Linked DNA regions of Homo sapiens: all the other regions are linked to region 1. The links are contacts of gene promoters, found by promoter capture Hi-C in blood cells and fetal thymus (Javierre and others, 2016). All regions are on one chromosome and are shown on one strand. The core of a region is centred on a gene start or on the middle of the fragment in contact, and the rest is flanking DNA. Distances in the headings are between cores, read along the strand shown. Region 1 holds the start of SF3B5 (splicing factor 3b subunit 5). Region 2 has its middle 3.0 kb from the start of PHACTR2-AS1. Region 3 overlaps PHACTR2-AS1 (PHACTR2 antisense RNA 1). Region 4 overlaps LOC105378035 (a long non-coding RNA gene).

Region 1 (2,700 bases), core at 198-2,697:
CTTACTCACTCCCTCCAGCCATGCTTGCCTCTTTGAAGTTCCTCCAATAAACCATACATACTCCCAGCGTTAGTACCATTGCACTGGCAGTTCCCTCTTCATGGAAAGCAATTTCTCCAGTTTTCCGCATGGCCATTTCCCTCATTTTCCTGAAGTCTTTGCTCAAATGTCACCATCTCAGTAACTTGTGCATCATATTTAAGATTACAGCCCTACCAGCTACTCCCACCCGCACCACATACATTGTTCTCCCCTCCCCGCAGCATCTTCTAACATTTGCTTATTACATCTAGTGTTTGACCTCCTTTCTCCACCACCAGCATAATGTAAGCCCCAAGAACACGGGAAAATGCCTGTCACATAGAGCTCAACAAATATTTGTTGAATGTAGAATGGATGAACTCGCTTGCCAGCTTGTCATTTCTGGAGACATGGCCACAAATTCCCAAGAAAAAAAAAAGGATGCATTTTAAAGAGGCTAGGGAGGACAATGACAGCAAAGACTGCAAAGAGTTTTAAAACAGGAGAAAAAGAAGATGGGATACAATAACCACAAATTTCAATACTGAAGGCATTGTGGGCCTGAAAATAACGCTCTTGGGAAAAGTGGCAGTCGGGGAATTAATTATAAAGGTAGACACGGCGGATCTAAGTGCCTGGCCATGGACACTGGCATGCGCTCCCTCACCCAAACCCACTTCCCGCTCAGCTCTTTCCGGAGCCTTCCACCCTAACACAGAAAGTTCACACCAAGAGACTGAACGATTTCTAAACTTTATGGAAAAAGCCAATGACAATCAATTAGCCAAAAACGAGACGCCAAATCCCATCTCACTCCAGCGCCATGCCCTCTTCTCAAACGCTCGCCGGCTCTAGGACCTCTCCACCAGCACAGTTCTCAGGAGTCCTGCTGGTCTCCCAGTGCTGTTCTAAGGGTCCACATGAAGGCAGGTCAGGCGGGACTCCCCGGGCAAGCACTTCTGTACGCGGAAAGCACGAGGCGCAGGAGCCATGGAGAGCCGGTCCTTTGGAGACAGGAATACTTAAGAGGATTGGCAAACCGGAGAAACGCTGGGAGAGGTGCCCCGCACTGCGGTGGTAAGGCAGAGTCTCAGTTCTCCTCGGGCTTGTCGGCTGGCGGTCCACAAGGCTGAAGCATCTTTTCCATCAAGTTGAAGCGGACTCGCGCTTTGCTCTCATTCTCCGCAATGGCGAAGTAGTTGAGAAGGTCGAAGTGGCCCATGTAGGAGCAGTACGAGTCGCGGTGTTGGTTCACCAGCCACTCCCACTTGGTGGTGTCGGCGTGGCCCGTGCCGATGTACTTGGACTGCAGGTGCTCCAGCTGGCTATGGATGGTGTAGCGGTCAGTCATCTCGCCGCTTTCCCCTTCGCTCTCAGGTCAGAGGACGCAGGTAACAACTCGCCGCTCTAGCGTTTTACAGGAGAGTGAAGCCACCGCGCGGAAGCTCCAGGTCCGCGCCGTCGCAGAAGAATGGCGTCACAACGACTAAGTAGCGTAACTCTCGCTCATAGGGCTCAGAGGCGGAAGCGGAAGCACATTCTGTCACGCAATTGGAGTTGCTGAGGCGACGCAACAAGTGTGCCTCCCCCCTCCATGGAGATCCCCGCCCCATCAGAGAATGTTGCATGATGGTCCACTTAGTGGCTAAGGGAGGCCCTTTTCCAACAAGGAGCGTTGCATGCTGGGACTTGTGGTCTTGGGAGTTCGTGCACGCAGGCTTCCGGGACTCCTGGTCGCGTTCTGTTGTTTGTTTGTTTGTTTGTTTAAGACGGAGTCTTGCACTGTTGCCCGGGCTGCAATGCAATGGCGCGATCTCGGCTCACTGCAACCTCCGCCTCCTGGGTTCACGCGATTCTCCTGCTTCAGCCTCCCGAGTAGCTGGGATGACAGTTGCACACCACCACGCCCGGCTAGTTTTTTTGTATTTTTAGTAAAGACGGGGTTTCACTGGTCTCGAACCCCTGACCTCGTGATCCGCCCGCCTCGGACTCCCAAAGTGCTGGGATTACAGGCGTGAGCCACCGCGCCCGGCCCCTGGTCGCGTTTTAAAAGTGATCTGGGGACCTAGTGGAGGGCGATGTCTGGAGGTGGGGAGCATCCGTGGGTGGCTTGGGGCTGATAGGAAATGGGAAACCCAAGAATGACTGGACTACGAGCAGCCCCGAAAATAAACTCTTGGTGTATTTCGGAGCCGTCGTGGCGGCACGGCCGTCCCTTCACAACCGGGGATGGATTACCCAGAAGTCAGCAGGCGCCAGTTCTGGTCCCAACTATGTCTCTTAGGAGTTTGTGGCATAAAAGAGTTATTTCAGCTCTAACCAGGGTGCTTGGTGAGCAAGTACAGCACCAGTTCCCACACATTCCGGCTTCCACCTCAAGCTCCTCCTTCCTCTCTAGCCACTTATTTTGATATCCTCCCTCCAAGGCCTCACCTCACCCTACTTGGCTCTTCCATTCAGTGGGTTTTGTGGATTCAACCAACCTGATTGAAAATATTGGGGGAAAATATCAGTCTGTACCGAAATGCAGACTTTTTAAGGTTATTATTCCCTAAACAATACAGTATAACAACTATTTACATAGCATTTACATTGTATTAGGTATGTTAAATAATCTAGAGACAAACTATACAGGAGGATGTGCGTATATGCAAATACAAGCCGTTTTATATCAGGGAC
Region 2 (2,700 bases), core at 158-2,657, 520 kb before region 1:
TGGTACATGGAGTTCTCGTATACTCTTCACCTGGACTCCCCAAATGGTAATATCTTACAAAACTGTAGTACAACGATGGAAATCAAGAAGGGAATGTAGGTAAAGAGCAGTACAGTACAGTACTTCTAACTAATCTGCAGCTGTCATTCAAATTTAGCCAATTATCCCACTAACAATTATCATTGTTAGTAACAATTATCATTGCGGTGTTTGTCAGATGGTGACTTTCTAGTTATCATCCTTCTGCATTTATCAATTGGAATTCTACTACAATGAAGAGCTACCTCTTCTGAGCTATTTATTCATTCAGTTATTTATTTGTATTAGTGTGGTCTCATGGATATTTCCTTTATCCTATAATCCATTACTATCTACTTTATTTCTTTTTTTAGAGACCCTCCAGCTCTGTCACCCAGGCTGGTGCAGTGGTGCAATCATAGCTCACTGTGGCCTCAAAGTCTTGACTGAGCTCAAACAATCCTCCCACCTCAGCCTCCTGAGCAGCTGGGACTACAGGTGTGCACTGCCACACCTGGTTAATTTTTTTTAAAATTTTTTTATAGAGATGAGGTCTTGCTATGTTTCCCAGGCCGGTCAATCATCACTCATTTTGTTGCCCACATTGTTGTACAATTGGCTATCGAGAGTTTGGTACAAGTTTACTCCTGTGTCCATTTGCCATGCTCCCATCATTAAAAAAATCATTTCCTTACTTTCTGGGACCACAAGACGTTCCAGACTCATCTTGTGTTTTCTCTGTCCCTGCTTTAGAATCAGTCTTTTCTCCTATGAGCCCTGCTTTCAGTATTATTTTAATGTTAGATTTATAACGTTCTGTTCATGTTCTTGGAAAATTAATATTTACCATATGGGAGATCTCTATGTAGGAGATATTAGATATTCTTCTACCATCTACAGAACTGATTTCTTATGAAACACTGGTCCCAAAAACATGTCAGATTATGAGGAGCATAGCCTATTTTGATACATATGCTAAAAAATGGGAAGCCACACAACTAGGATTTTCACCAAAAAATCTGTTTTACTCTTTCTTGCTTCTATATTTCTTTTTAGTAGGTAACTACAGGTCCAATATCTTTTAGACTTTTTGTTGTTGTAGACTTTGTTTTTTGCTAAGAAATTCTTTTGGCCCCGTGTAAATATCTTCTGCAGTTTAGCTCCTCACTGGCTTGAATTCTCCCCTCATCATATTTTGTCCTGACACCTTCCCTCTTTGCTGAATTTTTGATAACAGCATCTCTGTTTCTCTGGATCTCATGACAATTTTCCAGTCAATCTGATCAATATATACAGCCTCAACACTGAAGTGAACCTGAAAGTTTCTTGACCAAAACTAGAGTCTAATGCCTCCATCAAATATATCCCAACTATATATTTTTTCAAAATAGAATGTGTGTGAGTGTTTGTGACTATGTGTTTATTATAGATTGATTCATACTCAAACACTAACAGTGGTTTTTTTGTTTGTTTGTTTTTTTGTTTTGTTTTGGTCATTGTGGTTGTTGTTGTTTTTGAAATGGAGAATCTCTCCATTGCCCCAGGTTGGAGTGCAGTGGCACGATCTAGGCTCATTGCAACCTCCACCTCCCGGGCTCAAGCAATCCTCATGCCTCAGCCTCCTAAGTAGCTGGGATTACAGGCACATGCCACCACACCCAGCTAATTTTTGTATTTTTGGTAGAGACACGGTTTCACCATGTTGGCCAGGCTGGTCTCAAACTCCTGACCTCAAGCAATCCACCTGCCTCTGCCTCCCAAAGTGCTGGGATTACAGGCATGAGCCACCGTGCCCAGCCAACAGTGGTTTATTTTCTTTTGAAATTCACAAATCTTACTGCTATGAATCTATTATCATCAAATTCTAAAAGCATAATGTCTTTTATCTGTGGAAGTTTGGTCATCATCAGATAAGAATCCAAAATAAAAAATGAAATGTTTTTTACTTTCTAATTTGAAATAATTCTGTCCTTACAAAACTGGCAAGACTAGTACCTAATGTTCTCATAGACCCTTCACTGGGTATATGTATAATTTTCTTATATATTGCATTTCATTGTATATTACATTCGTGATCTTCCTACTCAGAACTAGTAGGGTCATGTGGTAAACATCTGTTGAAAATGCCTTAGTGTTATATTCCTGTGGGGAAACCACCTCTAACCCACATTATCAACCATGTGATTTAGAGAGATTGACCCATTCTTTGTTCCTGGGCTTTACTTGGCTTTGGCCAGTCATCAATGGCTGCGTGCTTGGTTTAAGGGTGTGTCCTTGATCCAATTCAGGCCATCGAGATGCATGGAGACTTTCACTAGGTCTTATGGAAGTTTCTTCTCTATTCCATGGAGGTCCCTGGATGCTACATTATTATGTTTGTCATCCATGGGAGCCAGCCCAACTGTGAAGGTTAAGAGAGAAGAGCCTAGAGAATTTCTGAGCTTTGAGAATGGATGCAATTAAGCCTGAGGCCAGCCCTACCTCCAAACCAGTTTTGTGAACCCATGAATTTTCTTTCCCTCCTTTTTTTTTTTTTCTAAGTATTTTTGATTTTGGTTTTCTGTAGCTTGGAAAAGTTTCTGTTGATAACAGATCTTTTTCTGTGCATTCTATCATGTTATTTGTCCCTGTGTTGGCACTTATCTTAGTTAATTATGTGGCTGTTTTTCTTCAACTAAATTA
Region 3 (2,700 bases), core at 20-2,519, 540 kb before region 1:
CTCAACTCTGAATGTAACAGGGAAAATAACTTATAGCCAAGGAGCAGTGTATCTTGCTCCTTGGCTATAAATTACAAGTGGGTGTCAGTGGATGGAAAATTACTAAAAGGAAACGTCAGCGTTAGAGCAGTCTTGCTGAAGACAGGACAGGATGATCAGCCCTCACCTGAGGAAAGGTGAAGGGCTAAGGAACTCGATTGAGGGTGGGAGTTCTCGGTAAACCAATTTAGCAGGGCTTTTGTTAAAACTGTATTTTACGAGGAAGTGCCCAGATGGGCCTAGAAGATCCAGGAGCCTGACTAAAGCTTGGTCACTCAAATAATCTTTGTCACTGCCAGTCTAAGAGGTCAAAAGTGTAATTTTGTCTTTCCCTGATTACTATTGAACCTAGGAAATATTTTATATTATTAGCCATTTGCATTTTCTTTCTCTGTGGTCTTCCCAGTACATATCCTTTGCCCTTTGTTCCTGTTGCATTATTTTCTTAACTCTTGGTGTGTTGAGTTGATAAATAATCCTTTGTGGTATATACATTGGAAGTATTTTTCTGCTATTTGGTTTTCTTTCATTTTGTTCTTAGGACGTTTTGTTACTCAGGAACAAATCCAGTTTTGATGTGTGAAGGTGTGTGTTTCCATACACATACGGAGGATTTACAAATATGCTGTAGATGTCTGTATTTGCTTTGAAATGCCCTTCAATAAAAACCATCCCAGCTTCTGTGATTCTTATCTTCCCTTTTTAGTGTGGGAGGCTTCCTGCTTTGCTTTGTCTGCACATTTACGTCGAGCCTGCCGAGCTTAATTTTAACCTGGGGAAAAATACAGAAGAGAAGCTATTTTCAGTCAGGTCATATTACTGAGAACACCTGTGAAATTCAGGATATTTTCTTGGGGGTAAGTTAAAATGTAGGACGCCACCTTGCCTGAAGCACATTTCTATTGTGGTTGCTGTACAAATTGGGAGGTGTTACTTGGAGCCAAAAACCTTATCACTTTCACACCAGCACTGCTTCTAAGTTGCATGCCTCCAACCCTCAATCCTTGGTATTAATTCTGAAACAACTAGTATAACCATCTGTTGAAAAGTTCTGTGGGAAAAAAAGGGGTCTTTGTGGCCTGTGTTATTCACTTCCCTGATGATCAACACAGAAATATTTTACATTTTGGTTATCAGTCTATTTTTTCCTGCTTTTCCTCTTGCTCCAGTTTGCCTTCCTAAATGTCTGGCCATAGGCAAATAAAATATACCCCCACCCTAGATGATTATGGTGTCAAAATTCCCTTAATCACACAGTAGCCCCAGCCAGCTGTTTGAGTAATATTTTTCCTACCTCATCGTGTGAATTGTCTTATTGTTTTGGTGAAATGTTGACGCTACCACCTACTCTCATCCTCCCACCTCCATTTGCAGATAAAATCTAATTATCACCTCAGGATGGTTTCTTGACATACAATATAATCACCACCGACACAAAAGAATTTAGGGCACTATGACATTTAGCTTTTTTTTTTTTTTTAAAGACTGTTGTTCAAAAAAATGATCCTTTTAAATTTGCTATTTCACAATTAATTTTTTTAAAAAGAAACAGAAAAAAAACAAAAAGAAAAGAGACCAAACCTTTTACTCTTAGTAATTAATCTATTTGTAGTGTTACATTGAAGGTAGTAGCAGAAGGGACAGTGAAAACTCATGATGGTTAAGAAATTAACAAAGGAGCATGCTTTTAGGACTTCAGGCAGGGATCATTACTAAAGTCCCTAGCTTTGATTAGAATTTTGTGATACCAGCTACTGTATAATTCGGCCCCAGTTCATTTCAGACTTTCTTCCTTAAATTCATTTATTTATTTCAGGACATTAAGGTATGGACTTTAGGTGTGGGGCATCTCCAATGCTCCTGCGTGCCAGGCACAAGGCGTGGGCCAGGAGAGTGAATATCTGGTGGAGGGAGGTGAGGAATACAGGAAGTAGTGCATTTTACTAAATGGAGAAAACATTGAAGGCAGCCAGCTTGATAGAATCATCAAAAATAAAAATTGAGGCATATAACAAAACCAGAAAGTACATTCATAACTCCGTATGTCAAACTAGAGAGAGGAAAGTGAAAAAGATGAGAAAAAATATTTTGAGAAAAGTTGACTAGCTCCTCTGCAGTGACAGCATTCAAAAAATCAATCTAAACGCAGCCCTAGAGCAGCAATTCAGCTTCCCAGCTTGGAGGACTCTAGGTTTGAAGCTTTCAGCTGCTATCAGATTTGAACCTCTCAGCTCACAGGGTGCTAACTAGAGGAGAAGGAAGACGTACATCACCACAGGACCACAGCGACGCATCACCATGGAATTTTCAGACTCAACGCACTGGCCACACCATGGGGTCCAATTGCTGCCATTTAGAAAAGCATGCTTTTAAAGTGTGTCATTTAAGAGTAAGTATTCTTTTTTAAAAATATGGGCCAGGAACTAATAAAAATGATGCACAAAGACGTGAGAAGATATGCTGCCTGTCTGTCCTCCTCCCTCAGAGAGACCACATTTCCTTTTGAAACAAAAATGAGGCCAGAAAGAAAGGGCCTCCCTCCCTAACCCCAGCCTCAGTTAGAGAGGGCCACAGGAGCTCGCCTACCATCTCTCTCCAAAATATGTTCTCCATGTGGTTCGGCAAGAGGATTCACTTGGTTTGACAAACTTTTCCCTTTGA
Region 4 (2,700 bases), core at 15-2,514, 570 kb before region 1:
TTTGAACACCTAACATATACTAACAAATGTGCCAAGTCCAGAAGATTCAAGGCTGAATCAGAGGACATCCTTGACTTTAAAAAGCTGACAGACTAGAAGAGCCAAGCCTACATGAAAATAAATAAATGCAATACGGACCAAAAGCACAATTATCGAAATATGTGCAGGGTAGAGGTGCTGAGCAGTGGGAAGATACAGAATAACTAATGCCTGTTAGCTGCTTCTGTATGTATGCCAGGTAGTGTTCTAAGTGCTTTACTTACATATATTAGCTCATCGCCAACCTGTGATCGTTTCCATTATCATATTGTTACACTCATTTTATAGATGAGGGACTGAGACAAAGAGTGGTTGCCTAGCTTGCCCAAAGTCACTCAGCTATACTGAGTGGCAGAACCAGGATTTAAATAATATGAACTCTGTGCTCTCAACCTCTACACATTTGCTGTCCAGACTGTCCAGCAGACTGTCTAGGAAGAAATGCAAAGCACTTTAAGCAGAGAGGGCAGCTTGGGCAAGGGCACTAGTGCAGGAAAGACACAAGCACCTTGTGGAGTCAAGCAGATAGGATACCAGAAGGCTGAGGAATATGCCACATCATAGGGAGGCTTGGATCAGTTTTGGTAGACAATGAGAGGACATTGAAGGATTTTAGTCAGAGGAGTGATGGGGCAGATCTGTTTCTTAAAAAGATTATTTTGACTGTGTTAGGGAGGATGTGCTGCAGAGGATCTGGATGCAGGTGGGGAAGGGAGGATGTGTTGCAGGAGGATGTGTTGCAGAGGGAGGATGTGCTGCAGAGGGTCTGGATGCAGGTGGGGGAACCCCCTTTAGAGACGACTTCTCCCAGGTAAGAAAAGGCTGTAGCAGTGGAGTTGGAGAGAGAAGAATGGACCAGAGCTATTTTAAGGAAGACTAGGCCAGTGCTGGTTTTGATTAGTGGATGTCAAACTTAGTGGTCGTTTGGTATTTTTACACGAAACCTTCAACAGAATCAACAGTGTGCTTCATGAAGGCAGAGCCCAGATTTGTTTTTCTCGCCGTTGTACTCCCAAGACTTGGTAATGTGCTCAGGAAATGCTTATTGATTGAATGAGTTAATGAATAAGTGAATAAACCAAGAAGTAAATAAAAAAAAGAATGAATCAAAGAAATGACTCAGTATTGGATTAGACCAAGTGCATAAGAGAAGAAGTTAATGGACTCTCAAATGACTTGCCGAAAAGATTAAGTCAATTTCTCTTTTCTTATGCAATACATTTTGTGTCCAGGCCTTTCTTATGAGTATTGTGTGTGGAACATAAAGCAACCAACTTAGCTCCACGATTTAGCTATTGGGAGACCCATGAAAGAGCCTACCCAGCCCTGCCTGCCTCTGGGGGTCTCGGTCATGTCATGTGACTACATCGCTTGGCTCTGTTTCCAAGTTCCCCACCTCTAACCTCTCTGGAGCTCACATTCATCTTTCAAAAACATCACTTCTGTTATATCACCCATCACTCACTCCCTTCACTACACATCTCTTTGCCCTGCTTTAGTTTTCATCTGAGCACTTACTGTTTCCTGACATTATGTCATTCATTCATTCATTCATTTATTCATTTTATTTGGTTCTATCTCTCTGTTAGTTTCCTATTGCTGCAGTAGCAAATTACCATAAACTTAGTGGCTGAAAACAGATTTATCTTGCAGTTCTTGAGGACAGAAATCTGAAATGGGCCTCACTGAGATAAAGTCACTGTGGCCAGGGCTGCATTATTTCTGGAAGCTCCAGGGGACAATCTGTTTCCTTACCTCTTTCAGCTTCTAGAGGCTGCCCTCATTTCTTATTTTGTGGACCCCTTTGATCTTTAAAGCCAGCAAAGGCAGCTTGAGTCTTTCTCATGATGCTGTCTCTCTGGTCTCACTCTTCTGCCTTCCGCTTCCCCATTCAAGGACTCTTGTGATTATATTGGGCTTGCCTAGATAAAGCAGGATAATCTTATTTTAAGGTCAGCTGATTAGCAACTTTAATTCTAGCTGCAATTTTAATTCCCCCTTGCCATGTAACAACATATTTATAGATTACAAGGATTAGGATGTGGATGTATTTTTTTTTTTTTTTTTTGAGACGGTGTCTTGCTCTGTCACCCAGGCTGGAGTGCAGTGGCACAATCTCGGCTCACTGAAACCTCCACCTCCCGAGTTCAAGCAATTCTCCTGCCTCAGTCTCCCAAGTAGCTGGGATTACAGGCATGCGCCACCAAACCCAGCTAATTTTTGTATTTTTAGTAGAGACAGGGTTTCACCATGTTGGCAGGCTGATCTTGAACTCCTGACCTTGTGATCCACCCGCCTCGGCCTCCCAAAGTGCTGGGATTACAGGCATGAGCCACCGCACCTGGCCCAGGATATGGATGTCTTTGAGGGGCCATTTCCTGCTTAGCACAATCTGCCTCTTATAGAATTTAAGTCTCTTGAGAGCAAAACTTTATCTACTTTGCTCTCTACAGTACAGCCATTGATTAGAAGAGGGCCAGTATATTGTAAGCATGCAGTAAATATGTTTTGAATAAATCAGCAAATCTTGTCCTTCTTTTTCACAATCCATCTCATACCAAGGCAGAATAATTTTCCTTCATATCAGCATGGATCATAATATACTCTTTGATATGGTTTGGCTGTATTCCCACCCAAATCTTATCTTGAATTGTAGTTCCC

The links. Contacts are between HindIII fragments. The CHiCAGO score rates a contact against its expected background, and 5 or more counts as called.
Region 2: a contact is called between a fragment that was not itself captured here and the fragment with the promoter of SF3B5 in region 1, in 7 of 17 cell types (erythroblasts, M0 macrophages, M1 macrophages and 4 more). The highest score is 6.7, in erythroblasts.
Region 3: a contact is called between a fragment that was not itself captured here and the fragment with the promoter of SF3B5 in region 1, in 3 of 17 cell types (erythroblasts, M0 macrophages and M2 macrophages). The highest score is 9.6, in erythroblasts.
Region 4: a fragment that was not itself captured here is called in contact with the fragment with the promoter of SF3B5 in region 1 in 4 of 17 cell types (M0 macrophages, activated CD4 T cells, erythroblasts and 1 more); the score reaches 5.8 in M0 macrophages.

What each region holds. Positions count from the first base shown.
Region 1 is chr6:144,094,126-144,096,825 of GRCh38, forward strand. It overlaps SF3B5 (splicing factor 3b subunit 5), which reads right to left and starts at 1,448. Exons shown (of 1, transcript NM_031287.3): 1 at 759-1,448. The coding sequence starts at 1,372. The coding sequence ends at 1,112. RefSeq lists an enhancer at 1,198-1,897. The HindIII fragment of the contact is 24,688 bases long and covers 1-2,700 here.
Region 2 is chr6:143,571,036-143,573,735 of GRCh38, forward strand. It overlaps a transcript of PHACTR2 not described here. Among named protein-coding and RNA genes, the nearest start is that of PHACTR2-AS1, 3.0 kb to the left of the region's middle. The HindIII fragment of the contact is 7,387 bases long and covers 1-2,700 here.
Region 3 is chr6:143,554,420-143,557,119 of GRCh38, forward strand. It overlaps PHACTR2-AS1 (PHACTR2 antisense RNA 1), which reads right to left. Exons shown (of 3, transcript NR_027113.2): 3 at 1-811. It also overlaps a transcript of PHACTR2 not described here. Among named protein-coding and RNA genes, the nearest start is that of PHACTR2-AS1, 14 kb to the right of the region's middle. The HindIII fragment of the contact is 1,933 bases long and covers 304-2,236 here.
Region 4 is chr6:143,521,112-143,523,811 of GRCh38, forward strand. It overlaps LOC105378035 (a long non-coding RNA gene), which reads left to right. Exons shown (of 4, transcript XR_007059796.1): 3 at 1-2,700. Among named protein-coding and RNA genes, the nearest start is that of FUCA2, 11 kb to the left of the region's middle. The HindIII fragment of the contact is 5,877 bases long and covers 1-2,700 here.